2 separate regions of the Homo sapiens genome follow, and region 2 is linked to region 1. Evidence: promoter capture Hi-C in human tissues and cell types (Jung and others, 2019). All regions are on one chromosome and are shown on one strand. Each heading gives the region's core, a stretch centred on a gene start or on the middle of the fragment in contact. The rest is flanking DNA. Distances are from core to core; before and after follow the strand shown.

Region 1 (7,245 bases), core at 3,420-5,919:
TATTTCTATTTGGATGACTTTTATTTCTTTCTCTTGCCACACTGCTCTGGCTAGGACTTCCCATCTTTTTGTTATATTCATTATGAAATTTAGAGTTGAGTTTTAAAAACTCTGACTCCTTTAAATTTGTCTTAGTCTGTTTAGTATTGCTGTAAAGGAACACCAAGGTGGGGTAATTTTTAAAGAAAAGAGGTTTATTTGGTTCACAGTTCTGCAGGCTGTATAAGAAGCACATCACCAGCATCTACTTCTGGCGAGGGCCTCAGATGGCTTTTGTTCATGATGGAAGGTGAAGGGGGCTGGGCACGGTGGCTTACACCTGTAATCCCAGCACTTTGGGAGGCCAAGGTGAGCAGATCACCTGAGGTCAGAAGTTCAATACCAGCTTTGCCAATATGGCTAAACCCTGTCCCTACTAAAAATACAAAAATTAGCTGGGTGTGGTGGCAGGGGCCTGTAATCCCGGCTACTTGGGAGGCTGAGGCAGGAGAATCGCTTGAACCCAGGAGGCAGAGATTGCAGTGAGCCAGTATCACACCATTGCACTCCAGCGTGGGTGACAGAGCGACACTCTGTCTCACACACACACACACACACACACATACACACAAAAGGTGAGCTGGCATGTGCACAGATCACATGGCAAGAAGAAGCAAGACAGAAGGGGGGATGTCAGGCTCTTTTTAACCAGCTCCCTCAGGAACTAATAGAGGACAGCACCAAGACATTCATGAGGGATCCACCCCCCATGACCTAAACACCTCCCATTACAGCCCACTTCCAACAGCGCAGATCCTTTTTTTTTTTTTTTGAGATAGAGTCTTGCTCCATCGCCCAGGCAGGCTGAAATGCAGTGGCACGATCTCAGCTCACTGCAGCCTCCACCTCCCAGGTTCAAGCAATTCTGTCTTGGCCTCCCAAGCAGCTGGGACTACAGGCGCCTGCCAACATGCTCGGCTAATTTTTGTATTTTTAGTAGAGGCAGGGTTTCACCTTGTTGGTCAGGCTGGTCTTGAACTCCTGACCTCAGGTGATCCACCTGCCTCAGCCTCCCAAAGTGCTGGGATTACAGGCGTGAGCCACTGTGCCCAGCCGCAAATCCAATTTTGACATGAGATTTAGGGACAAATATCCAAACTGCAGATATAGCAACACTTAAATCAGAAATTCATTATTTTAACTTTAAGGAAATATAGTCATTTCTGCTATAATCCTTGTTTTGAAATGTGAATTTGTTCCAACATGATTATTAGGAGACAATATATTACAAAATTTTGCATTTGCTTATGTGCAATTCTGTCTATAAGAAACACTAGATTAGTGGTTCTCAATCAGAACAATTTTGTCCCCTGGCAACATTTTTTATTGTTATAATGTGGGGAAGCGGGGTGGCCTATGGGCATCTAGTGCGTAGCAGCCAAGAATAGTGATAAACATCCTACGATGCGCAGGACAGCCTGCAAAACAGAAAATTATCCAGCACAGGATGTTAGTAGTGGCAAGGGTGAGAAACTTTGTACTATGTGAACAAACAGAACTGGGCTGCATAGACATACGCAAAATGCACACATGCAACACACTTCAAACATCAGATTACCCTGTGTTATGAGCCCTACCCATTCACCTCCGGGGTCACAACTTTCCATCTCATTTCAGATAACCTTCCTTTCACCACTTCACAATAGCTCACAAACTGCAACCCTTGCTATGCCCACTTCCACAAGCACATTTCAGGTAGTTCTTTTAGGTTTTTTTTTTTTTTGAAACGGGGGTCTCTGTTGCCCAGGCCAGAGTGCAGTGGTGCCAACACAGCTTACCATAGCTTTGATCTCCTGGGCTCAAGTGATTCTGTTGCCTTAGCCTCCCGAGTAGCTAGGACCACAGGGATATGCCACCACACCTGGCTAATTTTCTGTAGAGAGGGGTCTCACCATGTTGCCCAGGCTTTTTTTTTTTTTTTTGTCTTTCTTTCGAGACCGAGTCTTGCTCTGTCACCCAGGCTGGAATGCATTGACACGATCTCAGCTCACTGCAACCTCCGCCTCCGAGGTTCAAGTGATTCTCCTGCCTCAGCCTCTCGAGTATCTGGGATTACAGGTGCCCGCCACCACGTCCAGCTAATTTTTTTATTTTTAGTAGAGATGAGATTTCACCATGTTGGCCAGGCTGGTCTTGAATTCCTGACCTCAGGTGATCTGCCCACCTGGACCTCCCAAAGTGCTGGGATTACAGGTGTGAGCCACCACGCCTGGCCTGCCCAGGCTTATTTCAGGCAGTTTTTAAGGCAATTGAGATAATTTATTACTCATTAAAGTGCATAAAACTGCTTTTAGGTTCTTTCAACACATCACTGATTAAAGTTTGAGTATTGTATGTGTAACATTTCTCCCAATAAGCTCTGTGGTTTTTATTGCACAATTTTGCATAGCACTATGATTTTTAGAAATGCATATGCTGTATTATTGCAGAACTGAACGTATGTTTATACTTGTGTTAAAGATACTCATTCTCTCCTCTTCTCTGATTAAAATTCCTTACTTTTAAAACTTTTTTAATTTTTAGAAGTTTAAAAATCCAGAGAGTTACAGAGAAAACTATAAGCATCCTAGTATTCACCACTGACTTAACAAGTTTAACATTTTTCTTCAGAGTTCCTTTTAATGAAATAGAATGTGACCGGTGAAACTCAAGTTCTTGTGGTTCCTCTCTTCAATCATGTTCTGATATTGTCACATTCTCCTTCCTTTGTAAAGGCAAACATTATAAATAATATGGGAACTTTCCAGTTCATTTTAATACATATATGTATCTGTAAATATTCAGTATTACTTTGTGTCTTTTATACGTAAATACTTTATTATACTTGTATTCTTCCCTCAACATTTTGGGATCTGGCCCTGTTGAGTTTCTTTTTTTTTTTTTTTTGGAGACAGAGTCTTGCTCTGTCGCCCAGGCTGGAGTGCAGTGGCGCGATCTCGGCTCGCTGCAAGCTCCGCCTCCCGGGTTCTCCCGCCTCAGCCTCCCGAGCAGCTGGGACTACAGGCTCCCGCCCACACGCCCAGCTAATTTTTGTTTTTGTATTTTTAGTAGAGACGGGGTTTCACCGTGTTAGCTAGGATGGTCTCGATCTCCTGATCTCGTGATCCGCCCGCCTTGGCCTCCCAAAGTGCTGGGATTAGAGGCGTGAGCCACCACGCCCGGCCCTGTTGATCATATATGTAGCTAATTTATTTTAATTTTGTATAGTGTTCCACCGTCTGAATGTCACAAGTTTGTTTGTTTTTGAGATAGAGTCTCGCTCTGTCGCCCAGGCTGGAGTGCAGTGGCGCCATCTCAGTTCGCTGCAACCTCCACCTCCCGAGTTCAAGCAATTCTCCCTACCTCAGCCTCCCGAGGAGCTGGGATTACAGGCGTCCGCCACCACACTCAGCTAATTTTCGTATTTTTTAGTAGAGACAGTTTTTCGCCATGTTGGCCAGGCTGGTCTTGAACTCCTGACGTCAAGTGATCTGCCCACCTCGGCCTCTCAAAGTGCTGGGATTACAGGCGTAAACCACGGCGCCTGGCCTGAATGTCACAAGTTTTAAAATCCATTCTTTTACTCATTAATAATTTATTTTCAGGTCTGTGATTTGGCTGTTTATATCCTTTCCCCATATATATAGGTATGTATATATTTTTGGAGACGGAGTTTCGCTCTTGTTGCCCAGGCTGGAGTGCAATGGTGCAGTCTCGGCTCACTGCAACCTCCGTCTCCCGGGTTCAAACAATTCTCCTGCCTGAGCCTCCCGAGTAGCTGGGATTACAGGCGCCCGCCATCATGCCAGGCTAATTTTTTGTATTTTTAGTAGAGTTGGGGTTTCACCATGTTGGCCAGGCTGGTCTCGAACTCCCGACCTCACGTGATCCACCCGCCTCGGCCTCCCAAAGTGCTGGGATTACAGGCGTGAGCCACCGCGCCCGGCCTAATTCATTTAATAATCAGCAAAAATCCTCAACATTAAAGTTTACAAGATAAAAATACCCTCTAAACCTCGATTTTAAGAAACCACTAACTTAATTTTTTGTATCCTCTTCTACTCTTCCCAACGTATCATCTTACACTCAACCCAAATCACGCTAGACAATAAATTCTGACATTGAAGCCCCCGCCAAACACCATTTCAACCATTCGGAATCTTAAACTTTTTGGAACAGTTGTTCTGATTTCGGTGACTATGATGTAAAACTGGTTGACCTGTAACATCCACCTCTGGCCCCAAACCTTTCTATCCTTTCCACCGTCCGCTCCCCGTCCGCCCGGCATCCTCGCCCAGGCTCCGCCCCGCTCCTAGGTCGGCCTCGGTCCACGCTCGGCTTTGTCCAGGGGTTTGGCCACGGACAAGCCGCGGGAGCGGAGGCCACCTGCTCACCGCAGGGCCCGGAATCCACATCCCCAGCAGAAGCAGCCTGCAGACTCCGTCCTACCCGTGCACCGCGCGCACTCACGGGGACCCCAGGACACGGGCGAGCCCGGAACCCGAGGACCCACCACGACCCCGAAACCGGGCGTCCAAACAGGCTAGCCCGCTTACCCGAGGCGGCTCCGCCATGGTCCCCGCGGTCCCGCCCGGCCCTGGCAAACCCGACCGTCTCCGGCGGCTCCGCAGGAACCTGCCCTGCTGCGCACTGACTCCCCTCCGCTCCGCCCCAACCCGACTCCCACGCACAGCCCGGGTGGCCCCCAAACGCAGCGCCGGCCGGGCGCGGTGCATGCTGGGACCCGGCGCCCGGCCGCGGCTGCCGCTCAGTCCTACAGCGCCTCCTGCGGGAGGAAGAAGCGGCGCTGCCTGAGCGTCGGTCCTCAGAGGAGGGACCCAGGGGCCCGGGCGCCCTCAGAGCAGGCCGCAGCACGCCGGTCTTTGAGGGACCCTCGGATTCCCGGGATCTGGGGAGGGAAGCGGTCAGAGACAAGCTGAGGAGCTGGCCGGAGGGGAAACGGAGGGGCAGGACATGGAGAGATCAGGGACAGGGACAGGGAGAGATCAGGGACAGGGACAGGGAGACGCGCTCCACAGAAACCCAGACTGAGAGGCAGCGAGAGGGGAACCTCCGGTGCGGTTCCTCCCAAAGCCGCCCCCGAGACAGGCTTCGTCTGTGAGGGGGTCCCGGGAATCCAGCGAGGCCGGAAAGTGGGTGGGGGGCGCGCGCTGCCCGCGGTGGCCCGGGGCATCCGTCCCGCCGGGGGCGCGGAGGCCGTGGGGGCCCCATGCTTGTCCCGCCGGGGACGCGGAGGCGGGGTCCGCCCACCAGGTCCGGTCGCCGTGGGTCTAGAGCCCTCCGGGCTCCCCGGGCGGCCACGCTCCTTCCTTAGCAGAGAACGGCCTTGGGCAGAGACCCCATGCGGAAGCCACCCCGGCCTCAGGGCCGCCTGCAGGGACTCAGGGTGGCCCAAGGCTGCGGTCGGGCACCCCGGGCCCCGGCAGGAGACAGAGACAGAGTAGGAGGAGAAGACGGAGGAGGCCATGACACAGGGCGTGAGAAACACGAGAACGCAAGAACAGGGGAGAGGTGGGGAAACCAGGAAGAGACAGAAAGGAGAGAGGGCGAGGAAGGGGGTGGCGATTGTCTCCAGAAAATCAACCTCGCATTCTGTCTTAGTCATGTCTTAGGTGTCAGGCTGAAGTAGCAAAGGAAAAGTGTGTAGTTTGGAGAGGATGTGCATAAGAAATAAAATAGTCCCTGCGTAGGCTGAGGAGCATATACGCATCTGTGTTTGCCACAGAATCGTGAAATGTACATGCACCTTACTGTTTAACGTTTTTTATTTTTACAACTGTTATACAGTACAATTTTTTTTTTTTGGAGACAAAGTCTCACTCTTGTCACCCAGGCTGGAGTGCTGTGGCGCAATCTCGGCTCACTGCAACCTCTGTCTCCTGGATTCAAGCAATTCTCCTGCCTCAGCCTCCCGAGTAGCTGGGATTACAGGCATTTGCCACCACGCCCGGCTAATTTTTGTATTTTTAGTAGAGACGAGGTTTCACCATGTTGGTCAGGCTGGCCTCAAACTCCTGACCTTGTGATCTACCTGCCTCGGCCTCCCCAAGTGTTGGGATTACAGGCGTGAGCCACCGCGCCTGGCTTTTTTTTTTTTTTTTTTTTTTTTTTTTTTGAGACAGAGTCTTGCTCTGTCGCCAGGCTGGAGTGCAGTGGTGGGATGTCGGCTCACTGCAACCTCCGCCTCCCGGGTTCAAGCTATTCTCCTGCCGCAGCCTCCCGAGTAGCTGGGACTACAGGCACGCGCCACCATGCCCGGCTAATTTTTTGTATTTTAGTAGAGACGGGGTTTCGCCATGTTGGTCAGGCTGGTCTCGAACTCCCAACCTCAGGTGATCCACCCGCCTCGGCCTCCCGAAGTGTATACAGTACAATTTTTTAATGTATACTGCTATGAACTTTTTTTTTTTTTTTTTAGACGAAGTCTTGCCCTTGTTGCCCAGGTTGGAGTGCAGTGGCACGATCTCAGCTCATTGCAGCCTCTGGGTTCAAGTGATTCTCCTGCTGGCCGGGCGCGGTGGCTCAGGCCTGTAATCCCAGCACTTTGGGAGGCCGAGGCGGGCGGATCACGAGGTCAGGAGATCGAGACCATCCTGGCTAACACGGTGAAACCCCGTCTCTACTAAAAATACAAAAAATTAGCCGGGCGAGGTGGCGGGCGCCTGTAGTTCCAGCTACTCTAGAGGCTGAGGCAGGAGAATGGTGTGAACCCGGGAGGCGGAGCTTGCAGTAAGCTGAGATCGCACCACTGCACTCCAGCCTGGGCGACAGAGCGAGACTCTGTCTCAAAAAAAAAAAACCAAAAAACAAAAAAACCTGCTTCACCCTCGCGAGTAGCTGAGATTACAGGCGCATGCCACCATGCCTGCCCCGCTAATTTTTCGTATTTTTAGTAGAGACGGGATTTCACCGTGTTAGTCAGGATGGTCTCCATCTCCTAACCTCGTGATCCGCCCACCTCGGCCTCCCAAAGTGCTGGGATTACAGGTGTGAGCCACTGCACCCTGCCATGAACTTTTAACTATTAACTTTTTTTATAACTGTAAGTTATATAGAAGTATAACTTCTATACTACTACATAGAACTCCAAATTTTAACATATGCATAAACATGTAACTGACATCATAATCAGGCTGTTGTAAAACCCCAAAATCAGGCTTGTGTACCTCATGGGCAGCTGAGGCCAAACACTGAGACACCGGTGCT
Region 2 (7,245 bases), core at 3,758-6,257, 89 kb before region 1:
CCAGGCACTGTGTCAAGACGACCCATGGCATGAGCGCTGATCCCTGGGCAAGGAAGGGACCATTCTTGTGTTCCAATGCGGTTGAAGCATTTATGCCGTGCACTCAGTAATCCAGCCAAACAACCCTGACTGCAGCCTCAACTGCAGCTCCAGATTGGAATCTTCAGCTTTTCTAAGGGAACTCCTCCATTTTTAAACCTTTGTTACAATCGGGGGATCCTGTGTGCTGGTTTGTTTCTTGGGGTTTTAATACTATGAGGAAAAAAAAAGGGTGATGTTGACTTAGATCAGATGTCTCTAACTAAATACAGCCCTTAAGTGCCTTTCTTTGGCCTATCCAGTGTTGATAAGACCATTTGAGTTAGATCTGACACTTAAAAATTGGGTGATTTCACATAAAAATGCCTGGCTTTTCTTGAAAAACCAAAGAGTAACAGCAGGCTCAGATTCCCACCTGCAACAAGTGCCTGGGGCCAAGCAGCAGCACCCACTTCAGGCAGGACAGAGGACCTCAAGTGCACCCGGGTCGCCACCACTCCCCATCACCCCTTGCCGCACTTAACCTTGCCTGCCAGGTCCCTTGAACACTGGAGGTTTCAACCTCTGGCCTCCAGCGAACCCAACTGTCCATGAGTTCCAAGTAGGAGACTTTTGTAGCAGATTGGGGAGGGAGGATTCAAAGGCATGTTTTCAATTTAACCTGATCTGAGCCTACACTTGCTGTTAATAGATGAGAAAAGCCAGAAAGAATAGATAGAAGGGAATGGGAATGGTGGCTCACATTTGTAATCTCAGCACTTTGGGAGGCCAAGGCAGGCGGATCACTTGAGCCCAGGTGTTTGAGACCAGTCTAGGCAACATAGTGAGATCTCATCTCTACAAAAAAAAAAAAAAACACACACACAAAAACTTAGCTGGGTGTGGTAGTGCACACCTGTAGTCCCAGTTTACTTGGGAGGCTGAAGTGGGAGGATTACCTGAGCCTGGGAGGCCAAGGCTGCAGTGAGCCATGATTGTGCCACTGCACTCCAGCCAGGGGGACAGAGTGAGACCCTGTCTCAAAAAATTAAAAAAAAAAAAAAAAATTGACTCCTTTCCCACGACTCCTTCTCCAAGCTGTTTTCTAAAAAATCCCCTTCTGGCTCACGTCTGTAACCCCAGCACTTTGGGAGGCCAAGGCAGGCGGATCATTTGAGGTCAGGAGTTCGAGACCAGCCTGGTCAACATGGTGAAACTGTCTACTAAAAATACAAAAAAAATTAGCCAGGCATGGTGGGGCATGCCAGTAATCCCAGCTACGCTGAGGCACGAGAATTGCTTGAACCTGGGAAATGGAAGTTGCAGTGACCTGAGATTGTGCCACTACACTCCAGCCTTGGATGACAGAGCGAGACTGTCTTGAAAAAAAAAAAAAAGAAAGAAAAGAAAAACTTCTCAGTTTTTACTTTTGAACTAGAGGTCCTTTGTCCTCCTCCCTCTTCCACAGTCTCTCTGTAATCTAAGATGAGAACACGTTGAATTCAAGAGCTGTGCTCATCTTGCCTTGTGCTGAGCCGAGTGAAAAGAGTGTGGAGCGAGTGGTGTGGCTGACGGGAGGCTCTGGCTTAGGTAAGAGAGCCCCTTCCATATCTGGCCCCTCAAGCCTGGGCTTCCCAAGAATCTACAGTTCTCCATTTACTCATTCAAAAGGTGTGCAGTTACTATGCGCTGGCCCTGGGCGGCCTCCCCGTTCCACCTCTATTTTTTTTTTTTTTGAGACGGAGCCTCACTCTATCACCCAGACTGGAGTGCAGTGGGTCAATCTCGGCTTACTGCAGCCTCTACCTCCCAGGTTCCAGCGATTCTCCTGCCTCAGCCTCCTGGGTAGCTGAGATTACAGGCGCCCGTCACCTCACCGGGCTAATTTTTGTATTTGTAGTAGAGACAGGGTTTCACCATGTTGGCCAGGCTGGTCTCGAACTACTGACCTGAGGTGATCTGCCTAACCTTAGCCTCCCACAGTGCTGGGATTACAGGCATGAACCACCGCGCCCGGCCCTACCTCTCACTTTTGCTTCCCAAGCTTTCTGCAAGATTTAAAAACACTAAGTACTAAAAACTATACTGAATACTGAATAAACATTAAATACAGTCATGTCACTTAGTAACAGGAACATGTACTGAGAAATGCATTGTTAGGCGATTCTGGCATTGTGTGAATATCAGAGTGCATTTCCACAGACCCTGATGGTACAGCCCACTATACACCCTGGCTGTACGGTATAGTGTATCGCTCCTAGGCTACAAACCTGTACAGCATGCACTTGTGCTATTGTAAGCATTTGTGTATCTATGCATAGAAAATGTACAGTAAGAATATGGTGTAAAAGATTAAAACAGTATGCCTATAAAGAGTACTTTCTATGAATGGAGCTTGTCGGACTGGAAGTTGTTCTGGGTGAGTCAGTGAGTGGTGAGTGAATGTGAAGGCCTCAGAGTTTACCGTCCACGACTGTAGACTTTATAAGCACCGCAAGCTTAGGCCACGCTACATTTATTTTTAAAATACGGTAGCGGCCAGCCGTGGTGGTTCATGCCTGTAATCCCAGCACTTTGGGAGGCTGAGGCAGGAGGATCACCTGAGGTCAGGAGTTCAAGACCAGCCTGGCCAATATGGTGAAACCCCATCTCTGATAAAAACACAAAAATTAGCCGGGCATGGTAGCACGCACCTGTAGTCCCAGCTACTCGAGAGGCTGAGGCAGAATAATTGCTTGAACCCGGGAGGCGGAGCTTGCAGTGAGCTGAGAATGCATCACTGCACTCCAGCCTAGGCGACAGAGCGAGACTCCGTCTCAAAGAAAAATAAATAAAAAAAATACGGTAATTTTGCTATGACGTTATGAAGGCTACATCATCACTAAGTGAAAGAAATTTTTCAGCTCCGCTATAATTTTATGGGACCACTGTCATAAATGTGGTCCATCATTGACAGAAATGTCATTACTCAGTGCATGAGTGTACCTCTTTAATTCATTATAGTAGGAATCAAATAATCAATCATGTCCACTCGAGTTTAATCCCTTTGCTGCACCGGGTAGGGTCTGAGGTTGTGCACCTGGTGGCCTGGAGGGTCAGATTTGTCCATGGGGCTCCTGGAGCCCTTCCTAGCTCACAGCCCTTACCCTAGGGCTGGCCCACCTTGACAGGGGATGCCTTGGTCCTTCCAAGGGCAGGTGTGTGCTCAGAAGACAGACTCAGCTGACGAGACTTACGTGTTAGGAGAGCTGATCATTCGGGAACTCGTGGATCTGTGGGATGTGTAGTCAAAGCCAGGGACCTTGAAGTCAAAGGTCCTATCCATCTCCTGGAGGGAGGCCTGGCCTGCCGGGGCTACAGGCTCTGAGAGGCTCTTCACCCAAGAACCCCACGGAAGTTTTATTTGTTTGAGCTCCATTATTTCCCAAGCCAAGTAACTCACAGATTCTACTCTAGTGGAGTGCATACTAACCTCCTTCAGAAGGCTTCAACACGTTCTAGGAGCTGCTGATGCACTGAAGGACACCTGTTCTGAGTTCCGCTCCAGCTTCCCAGTTTACCCACCCTGTGGCTCTGGGGGAAATTCTTTACTATCTGACCTCTGCTTCCTTTTCTATGAGGCAGAGGTGATATGACCTAGACAGGCAAGACCTGTCCTTCCTCCATCATATCCTCAAAAAAAAAAAAGGGGCGGGCAGGGTGGGATAGGCACAGGTTTAAACATGGAGCAACATTTTGTTTTAGGTGGGTGATGAGTAAAGGGTGTGTATTATCCTAGTCTCTTTACTTTTGCATATGCTGAAAAGTTTCATAAGTGACAAAACCCTTCATTCAGAAACCTGGGCATCTTATCCGTCTTCTTGGGTCCACTCACCCACCCTCAGCATCTGATCAGTCTCAGAGCCCTGGAGATCCTGCCCCCTTATCCCTGAGACCCACTGGCCACCCACAATGCAGCCCACCCTCGCTCCCTTGCTCCTGAGGGAGGTGCCACAGCATTGAGAGTGGCCTGCGCTCACATCCCCACTCTGTTTGCTACTCAGCCCCACATCCCCCTCCTTTCTAGCTGTAAAATGAACGCAAGAACCTACCTCACAGGTCACTTAATGAGACAATCTGGCAATGCTCAACATGGGTTCTGGCTTTTGCTTAAGGCGAGATAAATGTTAACTGTTACTCGTCATCAATCTCAATCTCATCACATCACCTCCCTGCTGGAAACCATCAATGGTTCCCTGCAAACTAACATAAAGGTCAAGCTCCTGAATGCAGGCCCCCCAACCTGGCCCTGCCTCTCCTACCCTCAGCAACCCAGCCTCCTTGCACAGTGCTCCGTGGCTGGTGAAGGGGAAGGAGGGAAGTTTGCTTCCTCCTCCTCCTCCTCCCAGCTCCTGAGTCGGCCTCTCCAGGCCTGCAGCTGGGACAGTCCCCTCTTGGGTTCCCATGGCCCCGTACATACCTTCATCGTGGCACCGATCACGCTGGGCTGTCATCAACCTACTTGCCCGTCTCCTTTCTGAGGTCCCTCACAGGTCCAGGGTAAATTCCTTCAGTGGTCCCGCCTTTTGCAGGCAATGTAGAGGGAGCTGACTCAGTTAAGACACTCTTGGGCTACCCGACTTCCAGACTATTTCCAAAGAGGAAACATTTTGATTTTTGCCTCAGGGCCTTTGCACATGCTGGCCCCAAGCCTGGAACATTTACTCCTGGTATTTCCCAGACTTCAATATGCCTGTGACCCTCCTGGGATCTTCTTATACGCAGAATAATTCAGTAGGACCGGGGCCCAGCCTGAGACTCTACAGTTCTGACAGACATCCCAGTGATACCAAAGCTGCAGGTCCCTGGACACTCCTTTTTTGCCATCAGCTCAAGCCAACTTCTCCCGAGGGTCTTGGCTTAGATGTCACTTCAGAGCAGGGCTTCCCTGACACCTACACGAAGTGAGGTCACACTGCTGCTCCTCCCCAGAGAGGGGCTGTCTTCCTCAGGGCCCTTTGAACCCATGGGAGCCCTACCAGGACAGGAATCACTTTGTTCTCATGGTAGAGCGCTGAACGAATGGACTTCTGCTTCCGGAAACAGCCTTAACCGCTGCCCTACCCCAGGTCACAACTCCAAGCTTTTCGCCAGTGTTGAGGGGAAGGGCCTTGAAGAAAGGGCCCATCCCAGGACTGAGGGCCACCTGCTCTCCTGATGTGAGGGAGGGCACGATGGTTGGGGGTGGGGATGGGGGTGGGTGCAGAGACTTCTCATCACACAGGGAACTTACAGAGCACGGCCCACCCACAACTCCCAGCCTGCCCTGGCCAGGCTTAACTCTACAGCGGATCATCTCCCAGCCTGCCCTGGCCAGGCTTAACTTTACAGCGGATAATTGGGTAAGTCCACCAAGGCTGCCCCTTCCTGGGAGACCCAATGCCTCCTGCCCCCACCACCCCCAACACACACGTGTCACTGCTGCAGGAGCTGCCGTCAGCGCAAGGTTTCACCCTTGCCACTCTTCAGCCACAATTGGGAGCAGCTGAGTGACGGGGGAGGCGCGGGGTGAGGACGGTGATGGCTCATCTCGAACAAGCCTGTGATGAAATGAAGCCCAGGTCTTACTCAAATGCCCTGGAACCCTTATGGCACAGAACCACCTCTACACAAGCGCCGGTCCAGCGGAGCCGCCACCCCAGGAGAAGCGCTGAGGGGAGACCTCTGAAGCTCCTCAGCCTAGGTCAGGATGATCTCCACCCACCTGTGTCTGGAAGGAGGTGGGGGCTACTGCCAGGCCTCTGCAGGGCTTAGCTACATCCAGCTCCTGCCCCACCCCGAGGCTCCCAGCAGCACAGATCAGATGTTTTCTAACGCAGTTCTTAACGTTTTTAATCGTGTTTTATTCCATTGCCACAGCCTACTCTACCTTTTCTACCACCCCGCAGTATCTGCCTCTGGGTCCAGGGTCCTTTCTGCTCCGGCACTGGGGGCTCTCAAGAGGTGGGGCTGCCACGTGGGTGGCCTCTCCCTGGAGCTGAGCCCACCCTGGGGGACCCTGGATCATGCCCCTTTGCCCCCAGCCCTTGGTTTGCAGGGAGGCCGCCTGGCGATGCCCAGCCTGAAACAGCACCCCTGGCAGGGCTGCTCAGTGGCAGCTCTCACTTTGTGCTCAACAGGAAGCAATCAGAAACACATACCAGAAGCCAAATCTACGCCAACAATTTCTCAGACAACGAAAAAGCAAAGAGCAAAATCAACATGATTTGGAAAAGGAATTTTAAACCTTAAATTAAAAAAAGAAAACATTTTCACACAGAAGAATTATCTGCTTTGAGAAATAAAGAAATTAGAAGGTGTAAAAAAAAATTTTTCAAACCCCAAATAATGATAAAAATAGATGTATCCTCTGTAAAAATCTGGACTAAACTATTCAGTCATTCATGGTTATTCAGTATTCAGAGCATGAAGTGAAACACCAAAGTATAAAAAATTAAAAAAAAAAAAAAAGGAATCCGAGATACTGTCGTTTGTTGCCGGCCTCGGCGTGGACGCCCCGACCATGGGCCACGCAGGGCGTCTGCCTCCTCCCACCTTCCGCAGACCTCAGGCCTTCAAAGCTCTTCCTTGGTCCTGCTCAGTTTTGTGGCATGTTCTTCTATAAACTTGCTCAAATGCTCCAGATCTCTGTCTCCACCCTCAAATTTAACTGGGTTCTTTTTGTCCCCACTGGGGGCGAAGTAGATGGTGGGGAAGCCCTCCACCTTATAGCGGTCGCTGGGGACGTCGTTGGCAGTGGCGTCCATCTTGGCGATGACCAGGCCCTTTTGGCCCTTGTACTTCTTGGCCAGGCTGTTGTACACGGGCTCTAGCTGCTTGCAGTGCCCGCACCATGGCGCGTAGAACTCGATGAGGACGTCCTTCTTGGGGTCCATCACAATGGAGTCAAAGGTCTTTCCCACCACGACCTTGACGGGTCCCTTGTTGTTCTTGGGCACTGGCTGGGATTTGATGACTGGCTTCAGTTTTCCTGCCAAGGAAAGCAAGGCGGGAGGGGGCGTCAGTGCTGCAAAGGCCAAAGATTCTGGGGGCTCTCTCTGGACCAGGCAGTGAGGTTGGTGTGGCCACCAGACGGGCCAGTCACACAGGAAGAGCCCACTACTGTAGAAAGTAGTAGCTGCTACTCTCTACTCTCTGTCCTTGCAAAGGCCAGAGAGGTTGCAGGTGGCTCCAGCCCAGACCTAATGG

Evidence for each region. Contacts are between HindIII fragments. The study calls those that stand out against the background at their distance.
Region 2: a contact is called between a fragment that was not itself captured here and the fragment with the promoter of ZNF786 in region 1, in 2 of the 25 tissues and cell types used here (heart right ventricle and pancreas).

What each region holds. Positions count from the first base shown.
Region 1 is chr7:149,086,049-149,093,293 of GRCh38, forward strand. ZNF786 (zinc finger protein 786) reads right to left here and starts at 4,670. Exons shown (of 4, transcript NM_152411.4): 1 at 4,575-4,670. The coding sequence starts at 4,592. RefSeq lists silencers at 4,612-4,911, 5,032-5,521. The HindIII fragment of the contact is 46,746 bases long and covers 1-7,245 here.
Region 2 is chr7:148,997,183-149,004,427 of GRCh38, forward strand. It overlaps PDIA4 (protein disulfide isomerase family A member 4), which reads right to left. Exons shown (of 10, transcript NM_004911.5): 10 at 5,880-7,027. The coding sequence ends at 6,612. Among named protein-coding and RNA genes, the nearest start is that of GHET1, 13 kb to the left of the region's middle. The HindIII fragment of the contact is 5,437 bases long and covers 2,290-7,245 here.